Regions from separate parts of the Homo sapiens genome. Here region 1 is linked to region 2. Evidence: promoter capture Hi-C in 16 types of primary human blood cells and fetal thymus (Javierre and others, 2016). All regions are on one chromosome and are shown on one strand. The core of a region is centred on a gene start or on the middle of the fragment in contact, and the rest is flanking DNA. Distances in the headings are between cores, read along the strand shown.

Evidence for each region. The method cuts DNA at HindIII sites, captures the fragments that hold promoters and counts their contacts. A CHiCAGO score of 5 or more calls a contact.
Region 1: a fragment that was not itself captured here is called in contact with the fragment with the promoter of ZNF354A in region 2 in 1 of 17 cell types (endothelial precursors); the score reaches 5.7 in endothelial precursors.

The regions. Positions count from the first base shown.
Region 1 is chr5:179,474,772-179,480,932 of GRCh38, reverse strand. No RefSeq gene overlaps it. Among named protein-coding and RNA genes, the nearest start is that of RUFY1, 73 kb to the left of the region's middle. The HindIII fragment of the contact is 1,510 bases long and covers 3,510-5,019 here.
Region 2 is chr5:178,728,374-178,733,738 of GRCh38, reverse strand. ZNF354A (zinc finger protein 354A) reads left to right here and starts at 3,080. Exons shown (of 5, transcript NM_005649.3): 1 at 3,080-3,183; 2 at 4,666-4,749. The coding sequence starts at 4,717. RefSeq lists silencers at 2,901-3,240, 3,311-3,540. The HindIII fragment of the contact is 10,949 bases long and covers 1-5,365 here.

The DNA of each region.
Region 1 (6,161 bases), core at 3,015-5,514, 750 kb before region 2:
GGGATGAAGCAGGTTAGAAATACCAGGAAAAGTGGTAAAAGCCTTTGAAATGGACCAGAAGAATGATTAGGTGTCTTCAGTGGAAAACTGCTTTGGATCACAGTGTAAAATGAAGCACTCTCTTCTGGGCCACCCACTTTTGGGTTTGTGCTTTTCATTGTCTTTGTGCTGTTTTGTAATTTTGTAAACTGTAGATAAGCAACAGCAATGCAAAGGATTTTTATCTGTAGATGTGCAAATTAATTCTTTCTGGTAGAAAGAACACTTGATTCCCCATCGTGGCAGGCAGAGTAATGGACCCCCAAAGATATCCACAGTTTGAGTATGTTACTTTACGCGGCAAAACAGACTCTGCATATGTAAATTAGGTAAAGATCTTGAGGTGAGGAGATTACCCTGAATTATCTCGGAGGGCCCGGTGTAATCACAAGGCTCCTTCTAGGAGGAAGGCAGGAGGGCTGGGGTTAGGGCAGGAGATGTGGCTTTGGAAGCAGAGGGTGCAGTGAGGCCTGGCCATGAGCCAAGGGATGAGGGCAGCCTCTAGAAGTGGGAAAGGCAAGAAAACAGGCTCTCTCTCTTTTTTTTTTTTTGAGGCAGAGTCTCGCTCTGTTGCCCAGGCTGGAGTGCAGCGGTGCAATCTCGGCTCACTGCAAGCTCCGCCTCCTGGCTTCAGGCCATTCTCCTGCCTCAGCCTCCAGAGTAGCTGGGACTACAGGCGCCCGCCACCACACCCGGCTAATTTTTTGTATTTTTTTTAGTAGAGACGGGGTTTCACCGTGTTAGCCAGGATGGTCTCAATCTCCTGACCTCGTGATCTGCCTGCCTCGGCCTCCCAAAGTGCTGGGATTACAGGCGTAAGCCACTGCGCCCGGCCAGAAAACAGGCTCTCATGGGGCCTCCCGAAGGAACTCTGCTCTGTCCACCCACTTTGGACTTCCCATCTCCAGAACTGCAAGACAATACATTTGCTGTTTTAAGCCACTTACATTTGTGATAATTTGTTATAGCAGCAAGAGGAAGCTAATGCAAACCCTACCAAAAAAGAGCCAATTTGATATATATTTATACATCCACTTCATGATCCATAGGTGTCTCTGTTCTTTGAATTCTCCTTTAAACTAGTTGTGGTAGCTTACTGATTTTTTCATTCATTCACGAGTTGAGTCAAATATTTTAAATGTGTGTATTTTTATTTATTTGTTTATTTATTTCGGAGACAGTCTCACTCTGTAACTTGGGCTGGAGTGCCGTGGTGTGATCACGGCTCATGGCAGCTTTGAACTCCTGCACTCAGGTGATCCTCCTGCCTCAGCCTCCTGAGGAGCTTGGACCACAGGCACATGCCACTATGCCCGGCTAATTATTTTTTAATTTTTGTAGGGACAGAGTCTCAGCATGAATGAGAAGAGACAGCAGACACGAACACTGAGATGACACAGATGTTAGAATTATCTGATAAGAATTTTAAAGCAGCTGTCATAAAATGGTGCAATGTGCACATTATGAATGCGCTTGAAACCAATGAAAAAGGAGAAAGTCTAGGCAAAGAAATAGATGATATTAAGAAATAAATGAGGCCAGGCACAGTGGCTTATGCCTGTAATCCCACCACTTTGGGAGGCCGAGCTGGGCGGATCACCTGAGGGAGTTTGGGACCATCCTGGCTATCACGGTGAAACCCCGTCTCTACTGAAAATACAAAAAAATTAGCCGGGCATGGTGGGGTGCACCTGTAATCCCAGCTCCTTGGGAGGCTGAGGCAGGAGAATCACTTGAACCCAGGAAGCAGAGGTTGCAGTGAGCCAAGATTGCGCCACTGAACTCCAGCCTGGGCGAAAAAGAGTGAGACTCCATCTCAAAAAAAAAAAAAAAAAAAAAAAAAAGTAAGGATAAAATATAGAATAACAATATAAAAACTCAATGGATGGGTTTAACAGCAGAATGGAGAGGATGGAGGAAAGAAATCCATGAACTTGGAGGTACAATGATATATATTATCCAATCGGAATAGCAGAAAGAAAATAGCCCGGAAAAAACAACAACCCATTAGCAAGTCACTGCTGAAGGGCAGGGCCTTCACCTTCCTGTTCACTAAAGTATGCCAAATGCTCTGTCCAGCACCTGGCATACGGTAGGCACTCATATTTGTTGAATGCTCTAATGCCCTGTGCGTGTGGATTCCCCTTTGTCAATGTTTTTGTTTGTTTGGTTTTGGTTTTGCTTTTTACCAGTTTAAGTGAAGTGTTTTTTCTGAAGGCTCTGAGACAGAATTGGATTCATGCCTCTCTCCTGGCTTCTGGTGGCTGCCGCAATCCTTGACCTTCTTTGGCTTTTGGACGCATCACTGCCACCTGTGTCTCCGTCTCCACATCGCCTTCTCCTCTTTGCCTTTTGTCTCCAATGTCCTTCTTCCTTTTCTTACAGCTGTCATTGGATTCAGGGCCCACTTTGACTCCAGGATGATCTCAACTCGAGACTCTTCATTACAGTTGTAAGGACCCCTTTCCAAATAAGGTCACACTCACAGTTCCAGGGGTTAGGAGCTGGACATACATTTTTGGAGGCCTATTCACCCCCTACAGAGATGGAAAACAGACGAGTGGCTGTCAGAGGTTAGGGATGGTGGGGACATGGCTGTGTAGGTGACTATCATGGGGTGGCTCCCAAGGGTGATTTTTGTGGCAATGGGACAGTTTTGTATTTTGATTGTAATAGTTACATGAAACTACACATATGATAAGATGACACACATTGGGTCGGGCTTGGTGGCTCACGCCTGTAATCCCAGCATTATGGGAGGCTGAGATGGGCAGATCACCTGAGGTCAGGAGTTAGAGATCAGCCTGGCCAACAAGGTGAAACCCTTTCTCTACTAAAAATACAAAAACTAGCCAGGTGTGGTGGCGGGCTACGTATAGTCCCAGCTACTCGGGAGGCTGAGGCATGAGAATGGGTTGAACCTGGGAGGCAGAGGTTGCAGTGAGCTGAGATCGCGCCACTGCACTCCAGCCTGGGCGAGAGAGTGAGACTCTGTCTCAAAAAAGAAAAAAAAAAAAGATGACGCACATTGCACCAATGTCAATTTTCCCGGTTTTGATGTTGTACCATAGTTATGTAAGATATTGTCACTGGGAGAAACTGTGTGAAGTGTAAATGGGGACATCTCGATACTATCCTTGCAACTTCTGTGAATCTATAATTGTTTCCAAATAAAATGTTCAACAAAACCCTACGTGCACATGCACACACAGACACAAACATAAGCAAAGTCAAAAGACAAATGACAAACAGGCAAAAAAATTCTTTTCTTTCCCAGAACAAGACCCAAATTGATTCAGCAGACATTTTAATTAGGAAATCCTATAAATCAGGACCACTTTTAATTTCAGACACTCCGTTATGAAGCGTACATCTACATCTGGAGGATGAACAGGCCATTGAATCTCTTAAAAACTGGCTTTGCTACCTTCGCATTTGGGGGTAGGACCTTCGTAAGACACCATTAAGCTTCAAAGGGCAAAGCCTGTGATTTCTCCTCGGGGAAAGCCACATTTTAAAACCAGCTTCGGTCACAAAGAACAGCTGCATGGGAGAAGGAGACAAACCGCACGGGGAGGATGTGCAGAGCCTGAGGCCCACAGCTTCACAGAGGCCAGCACAGAGCAGAAAAACATCCAGGGTCTCTTGTCCATTCCTACAGACACCAGCAAGGATGGAATAAGAAAGTTGGGCTGGGAGGATGGGAGAGAGGCTCAAGAGATTGTTTAGGTGGGCCCAGTGGCTCACGTCTATAATCCCAGCATTTTGAGAGGCCAAGGCAGGAAGATTGCTTGAGGGCGGGAGTTTGAGATCAGCCTGAGCAACATAATGAGATCCCATCTCTACACAAAAATACAAAAATTAGGCGGGGCGCGGTGGCTCATGCCTGTAATCCTGGCACTTTGGGTAGCCGAGCAGGGGGTGGATCACGAGGTCAGAAGTTCAAGACCAGCCTCGCCAAGATGGTGAAACCCCGTCTCTACTAAAAATACAAAAATTAGCCAGGCGCTGTGGCAGGTGCCTGTAATCCCAGCTACTTGGGAGGCTGAGGAAGGAGAATCGCTTGAACCTGGGTGGCAGAGGTTACAGTGAGCCGAGACCATGCCACTGCACTCCAGCCTGGGCAACAGAGCGAGACTCCGTCTCAAAAAAAAAAAAAAATTAGCCAGCATGGTGGTGGCATGCACCTGTGCTCCCAGCTACTAGGGAGACTAAATCAGGAGGATCACTTGAGCCCAGGAATTTAAGGCTGCAGTGAGCCAAGATTGTGCCACTGCACTCCAGCCTCGGCAACAGTTTTTAAAAAGCCAGTTTTTAAAAGATTCAATGGCTTATTCATCCCCTAGAGGTAGATGTACACTTCATAACGGAGTGTCTGAAATTAAGAGTGGTCCTGATTTATAGGATTTCCTAATCAAAATGTCTGCTGAATCAATTTGGGTTTTATCTTGGAAGAAAAAAGATTTTTTTTTTTTGCCTGTTTGTCATTTGTCTTGTTGTTTGTCATTTGTGAGACCTTGTCTGAAAACAAAAAAAGGAAAAAGATTGTGACTGCTTCTGAGAAAGCTCCTGGTGTGGCTAGAGTGGCCTTGTGGGAAAAGAACAAATTCTGTAAAGAAGAAAGCAAGAAAAAGCAAGTACTTCTCCCCACACATCCCCTCGCCCGTTTGCGTCCTCTGGAGACTCCAGGCAGTAGCGGAGCACAAACAGGGCTCTTCTCGGCGTGAGACAGAAAAGACACCGCGGTGAGTTAGCTTTCCCAGGAACTGCACGGCCTCCCACCTACAGCCAACCCTGATCTTGAACCGCGACTGGCAGGGTTGAGTCCTTTACAAGCGCACACTCAAATTCAACTCTCAAATTCCCCTTCAAAACTGTCCAGGTCCCTCCAGTCCCCTAAATGGAGTTGACATCTCCCACCTTCTCCAGCCATAAACCGGTGGGAGAAAGGGTCGGCCCCAACCCACCCACGGCCAAGCTTTTACATTTTCTCCCCGACCCCGTAACACCACCTTCACTAAGTTCCTCCACCGAAAATCACAACGAAATGTATGCGTGTCCTCAGTTTTTAGTATTGTTATAGCCCTCAAGATTCCCAACCCTCGGAGCCCTGTCTTTAAAGAATCCAACCTCACGATGCCCCCAAGGGCTAAGACAGGCTCACGGTGATGCCAGCGGCTGCCCCCGCTCTCCCCGTCTATCCCCGGTCTTTGGCCCCGACGGCCACCAGTGCGTTCCTTCCCTGCAGCCCACACCACTTCTCCCACCCAGAGGTGGGGTCTATTTCCTATTCCTTAAATCTGGGCTGACCTTGTGACTTTCTATGACCAAAGGAATGCAGAAGTGACATTTCCTGACGTTGGAATCCAGGCCTTAAGAGGACTGGCAGCTTCTGTTTCCTCCCTCTTGAAAGCCAGCTGCTATGTAAGAAGGCTGACTTCCCTGAGACCACCACGCTGTGAGGAGGCCCCAGCCGAGGTGACGTGGCTATGCAGACGAGCACAAAGGCACTCGACAAGTGAGTGAAGGCTTGGTGGACCATCCAGCTCAGCCAAGCTGCCGGCCAAATGTAGCCGAGTGAGTAAGCCCAGCTGGTAGCAAGTAGAGCAAGAGCCACCCAGCTGTGCCCACTCGACCCGCAGAATCCTGAGGAATAATAAATTATGTCGCTTTAAGCCATTAGGTTTTGAGGTAGTTTGTCATGCAGTAATAGATAAAGATAGCTTTTACTTTCCTAAGAAAGAGACCAAGGACTACAAAGAAAAAATGGGCAAAAGAAAGAAATAGTTCATACAGAATGAAATGCAAATGATCCTTAAACATCAAGAGATGCTCAACCCCAGTTGTAATAAGAGAAATGCAAATTAAATTGCCCTTAGACATCATTTTGCGCAATTCAATTTGGCAAAAATCCAAAATTGTAAAATACATCGTTGGTGTGGCTGTGAGGAAACAGGTTTGGTTGTGGAGAATACAAAATTGTACAAACCTTATGGAGAGCAGTTTGGCATTGCTTATAAAAAATACAAATGTATTGGCCGGGCGCGATGGCTCATGCCTGTAATCCCAGCACTTTGGGAGGCCGAGGCGGGTGGATCACGAGGTCAGGAGATCGAGACCAT
Region 2 (5,365 bases), core at 1,831-4,330:
AGAGATTATTTTCTTCACTGAGTAGGGCAGGGGGTTAGGATTTTTTATAAGCAGCCTCTCCAATAGCCTGTATCGGCCTCTAAGTCCCAAATGCATGCAACATGGTGCCATGGGTAAAGGGCACAGAACTGTCTGGGAGTGCTGTTGTGAGGTTTTGTTTTCCACTTCCCCTCACCCCATCATTATCCCTCCCCAGCTGAGATGTCTCCTCCCCCTCAGCCCTTCCTCCAGGGTCCAGCTTCAGGAAAGGCCCCGTGCTAAGTAATAAATAGGAGGTGCGCAGGATTTTAAATCTCACCACCTGGGTTTATTTTCTGATAGTAAAATGGAAGAAAAATAGAGTGAAACCTCCATGATTTATGGGCTCCCTTGCTTTCGGAGGTTTTCCGGTTGCATCTTTGTGCTATGCTTGACATTTATGATATAAGATATTAATATCTGCACAGAAGAGCTGCCGGTGCTAATTATTCAGACCTGCTCTGACAGCGAACTAGTGAGCAGCACTCATATGTCAGATCCCATCTATGCATTAAGCCTTTCACTTAAAATAGGTGGGAATGACGAGGCACTATGGGCCTTAGCTGTATAAACTGTGCAGAAAGTCTATAGGATATATTAGTAAATCAACTATGATAGGGCTGCTGAAAAGCAAGCCAATACCTGTCTGATAAATAGAATCCCCAGGAAAGTCTTTGATTTAGGAAATGTGCCAGAGACATAAAATGATATGAGGGAAAATGCAAATAATGAAACTAGCTTTTCCTAATTCAGAAAGGAAAATGTTTGCCTCTCCTTCCAGTCCTTCAGGTTGTCAGATGTGCCTTGTTTCTAGCAGCTATTTATAATATTAATCATTTTAACAGTATCAAACAGACTGGGTTTTTACACTTGATAAATTTTTGATGTTGAACCTTTGAAAAATGCAGTGATGTGATTTTTTTCTTCCTGAAGAGTTTCTCCCCAGAAGCCAGTGTTAATTTGCAGATGCCAACACATGACTAATGGTCTTATCTCAAAAGATTAATCCACACTAAATTAACATAGGACCAAGGCCTCAGGATTGTATAGCCTTTCGTCGTGAGAGATTCCAGGCTTTGTGATTCTGACAGACAGGCTGGCAGTTGTCTCCTCATAAGGGATGGTAGCTGGTTAGTTAATTGGTCAGTCAGTCTGCCTGGTACACCCTGTTACTGCCTGCCTAACAGTCACTGCCCTCCTCTTCTTTGTCAAGAACACCAATTTTGTTCAGTGAGCAATGCGCTCAGCTCCAGATGATGAGATATGATGGAGCTGCTTCAGTTCAGGTGAACTAAATTCCCTGTGATTGGTTCAGAGGTGAGGAAGTGACCTAATTCTGGCCAATGAAATGCAAGAGAAGGATGGAAAGGAGCTGAATGGGTTGGAGGAGGAAAAGGGATGGTGGCTTCTGGAAAAGAAAATAAAAGGTGATCATCATGTGGAAGTTAGTCCTTTTTGTTTCTGTAATTTCCTTCCTGATATTGGATGTGGCTGTGAGAAAACTGGTTCCTGGAGCAGCAGCTATGCTGGGCTCTTGAGTGGAGACCATAGCCAGAACTTTGGGTGGCAGAGCAGACAGACGGAAAGACACTGAGCCCTCGCTGATGTCATCAAGCCACCAAACCAACTGCGGTCAGTTCCTTCTGCCTACCTCTAGATCGCTTTTTAAACAAATAATAAATGTCATGATGCAAGCCACTGTTAGCAAAGGTTTCTGTATGTTGGTGCTGGAAGTATTGCTAATGATACAGCCAATTTTGCAAGCCTGGAAATTGTTTTCTCTCTTAAAAGCATTCATGTCATACATGCATATGGTAAAGCAAAATGTTGAAAAGTATATCAAGGTGTTAAATAGCAAGTGCAAGTATTATTCCAGCTCCCAGTACCCTCCTCAGAGGCAACTACTTTTTTTTTTTTTTTTTGAGATGGAGTCTCGCTCTGTCGCCCAGGCTGGAGTGCAGTGGCGCAATCTTGGCTTACTGTAACTTCCGTCTCCCGGTTCAAGCAATTCTCTGCCTCAGCCTCCTGAGTTGCTGGGACTACAGGCGCCCGCTACCACGCCCAGCTAATTTTTGTATTTTTAGTAGAGACGGGGTTTCACCATCTCGGCCAGGCTGGTCTTGAACTAACGTCGTGATCAACCCGCCTCGGCCTCCCAAAGTGCTGGGATTACAGACATGAGCCACCGCCCCCAGCCAATTAAACGTTTTTTTTAAAAAAATAAATGCAATGGAATGCAATGAAGCTATCAAAAATGCCACTGAGGGAGAATATTTATTGACAAATTCAAATGTTCAAGGCATATTCTTAAGTAGGGAAGCGCCAAACTTTCTAAATGGAGCCGGTGTTCTTTTTGTAACTGAGAAGATTTAGTTTAAAAAAAATATATATATATATACACACACACACACACACATATACATACATACATCCGTTGGCTTCACAGTAGCTGGCACCTCCCTCCCCTTTGCTTCAGGCACTTCCTGGGAGTCCTCGTCCATTCTCACCTCAGCGACGAAACCCCTCCACATACCCTGTTTCTCCTCACATTTATCCCCGAAAATGTTATATAATTATGTGTATGGCTTATTGTCTGCTCCCTACCCCCCAAAAAAATGTTCTCCAGGGCAGTGACGTTTCTTTCATTGATTGATACATGTGAAACCACTTGCAACCGTGCTTGGCACACAGCAGGTGCTCAGTGCCCCTCTGGTGAATAACTGAGGGGCACTAGGTCTGTTCTGGGCCGTTTTCCTGCCGCCCACGCCCTCCCTCCCGAAATTCCCACAGACACAGAGTTGCAAGTTACTGCCCTCAGCGAACCTCCCCTTATCTTCCCTATAACCAGGAACCTGGGGCCCTCCAGCTCACAGGGGCCCTCTTGTGGCATGTGGGCGCGTAACAGCTCAGCCGGGACCCCGCCTCAAACGCATGGAACTACACTTCCCCGAATGCAGGTGTCCTCTCGTGGACTCCATTTCCCAGCGGCCTCAGCGGCTGCCCCGCCCCTCCTGGTCCCCGGCGCGCCGCGGGGTGAGCGGCGCCGGGCCTGAGGTCGCCCAGACGCCGTCGGGGCGGAGCCGGGTCGCGAGGCTGCATCCCGGCCGGCGGTTCCGGAGCCTCGCGGCTGGGGAGGCGCGGCCCGGGACGCTCGAGCTTAGGGAGGTGAGCGTCGGCGGCAGGCCAAGCCGGTAGGAGGCGGCGCCCGGCACGGGGACTGCCTGCGGCTGCCGAGGCTCCGAAAGCCTTTGTGGGCGCTGGCGGGCACCCCCGCGTCTGTCACCGGCCCCCGCGCCGGGATCTGGACTCTCGCCCCCCCGCGGGGCGCTCCCTCGCCGTTGCTGGTGCACCCGCGTCCGGCTCGCCGTGGACGCCGGGCCTGGCGTTTCCTCCCGGGCCCGTCCTGCCCACTCCATGTGGGCCTCGCGGACTCGGGGCACCGGGACCCCGAGGGCAGGGCGGACGCAGCCGGGCCCCGGTTTCCGAGTCCGTCCCCAGGACGGCCACCCCTCCCGCCTCGGGACACCCAGCGCTTTCCTCTTCAGAGCTGGTGTTTGGCCGGGCGCGGTGGCTCACGCCTGTAATCCCAGCACTTTGGGAGGCCGAAGCGGGTGGATCACGAGGTCAGGAGATCGAGACCATCCTGACTAACACGGTGAAACCCCGTCTCTACTAAAAATACAAAAAAAATTAGCCGGGCGTAGTGGCGGGCGCCTGTAGTCCCAGCTACTTGTGAGGCCGAGGCAGGAGAATGGCGTGAACCCAGGAGGCGGAGCTTGCAGTGAGCCGAGATCAAGCCCTGCACTCCAGCCTGAGCGACAGAGCGAGACTCCGTCTCAAAAAAGAAACATCGTGTTAGAAATGGGATACATGGGGTCGGGCGTGGTGGCTCACGCCTGTAATCCTAGATTTTTGGGATGCCAAGGCGGGCAGATCACCTGAGATCAGGAGTTCGAGACCAGCCTGGGCAACACGGTGAAACCTCGTCTCTACTAAAAATACAAAAATGAGCCGGGCGCCTGTAGTCCCAGCTACTCGGGAGGCTGAGGCAGGAGAATGGCTTGAACCCGGGAGGCAGAGCTTGCAGTGAGCCGAGATCCTGCCACTGCGCTACTGCACTCCAGTCTGGCCAACAGAGCGAGACTCCGCCTCAAAAAAAAAAAAGCCGTTTTCCGTGGAGTCGGGAGATGATTCGTTGGCGGGAGAGAGAGGAACCGGCTGGGAAAGGCTTGAGGCGGAGGGAAGTCGTCCCGGGGCCGTCGTGGTGGGAGTCCCGGCCCGCCTCGCAGCGGCGTGAACGGGGCAGGTGCCCCGGCGCTGCCTCAGTTTCCTGAGCGGTGCAGTGGGTGCTGGCAGTGCCAGCTGGCGCCGAGGAACTCAGCGGCGTGGGGCGAGCCCTGGCCCTGGTGGGCTCAGCGGGTCGCTGCTGCCACTGCGGCTCCAGCGTCCCCTCCGTAAGCCCCAAGCCTGTGGGGCCTGGGCCTGGCCGGGCGGCCCAGCGCTGCTCTGGTCCGCGGGCTCCTGGCTCCTCCCGAATCCCTGTGAGGGCGCGCGGGGTCCTTCTCAGCGGGAGTCGGGGTTTTAGAGCTGCGGATTCCAGGGCTGGAAAGCAGAAGGGGTTCTTCCTGGCTCCCTTTTTCTTCTCAGATCTGCCTTCTGGAGACTGCGCCGTCCTCCCGGGAGAGCCAGAAAGAGGACATGGCTGCTGGGCAGCGGGAAGCGAGGCCCCAGGTGAGCTCATTGCCCTCCCAGATCCCAGTGGATGGATTTTCCCCACTAACTGGAGTTCTTCACCCGGGACCATCTCCAGCCAGGATGGAGCCCAAGTCCTTTTCTCTTGGAGGAGCTGGTCCGCCCTCATGAGTGGTGGATTCTGTAGGGAGGACCACCCACCCTCCCCACCCGTGTCTAGTGGTTCTCTTTTTTTTTTTTTTTTTTGAATCTCGCTTTGTCGCCCAGGCAGTGGCGGGATCTCGGCTCGCTGCAACCTCTGCCTCCCAGGTTGAAGCAATTCTCCTGCCTCAGCCTCCCAAGTAGCTGGGATTACAGGCTCCCGCCATCACGCCCGGCTAAGTTTTTTTTTTTGTGCTTTTATTAGAGATGGGGTTTCACCACGTTGGCCAGGCTGGTCTCAAACTCCTGACCTCAGGTGATCCACCCGCCTCAGCCTCCCAAAGTGCTGGGATTACAGATGTGCGCCACTGCACCCAGCCCGAATAAATCATTTTCTGTACACATTTATTTGTGTGTGTGTGTTTGTGTATGCATGTTACCATCTATGTTACCATTTTAACCTTTTTTTATTGTGGCAAAATATATATAACATAAAATATACCATTTTAACTTT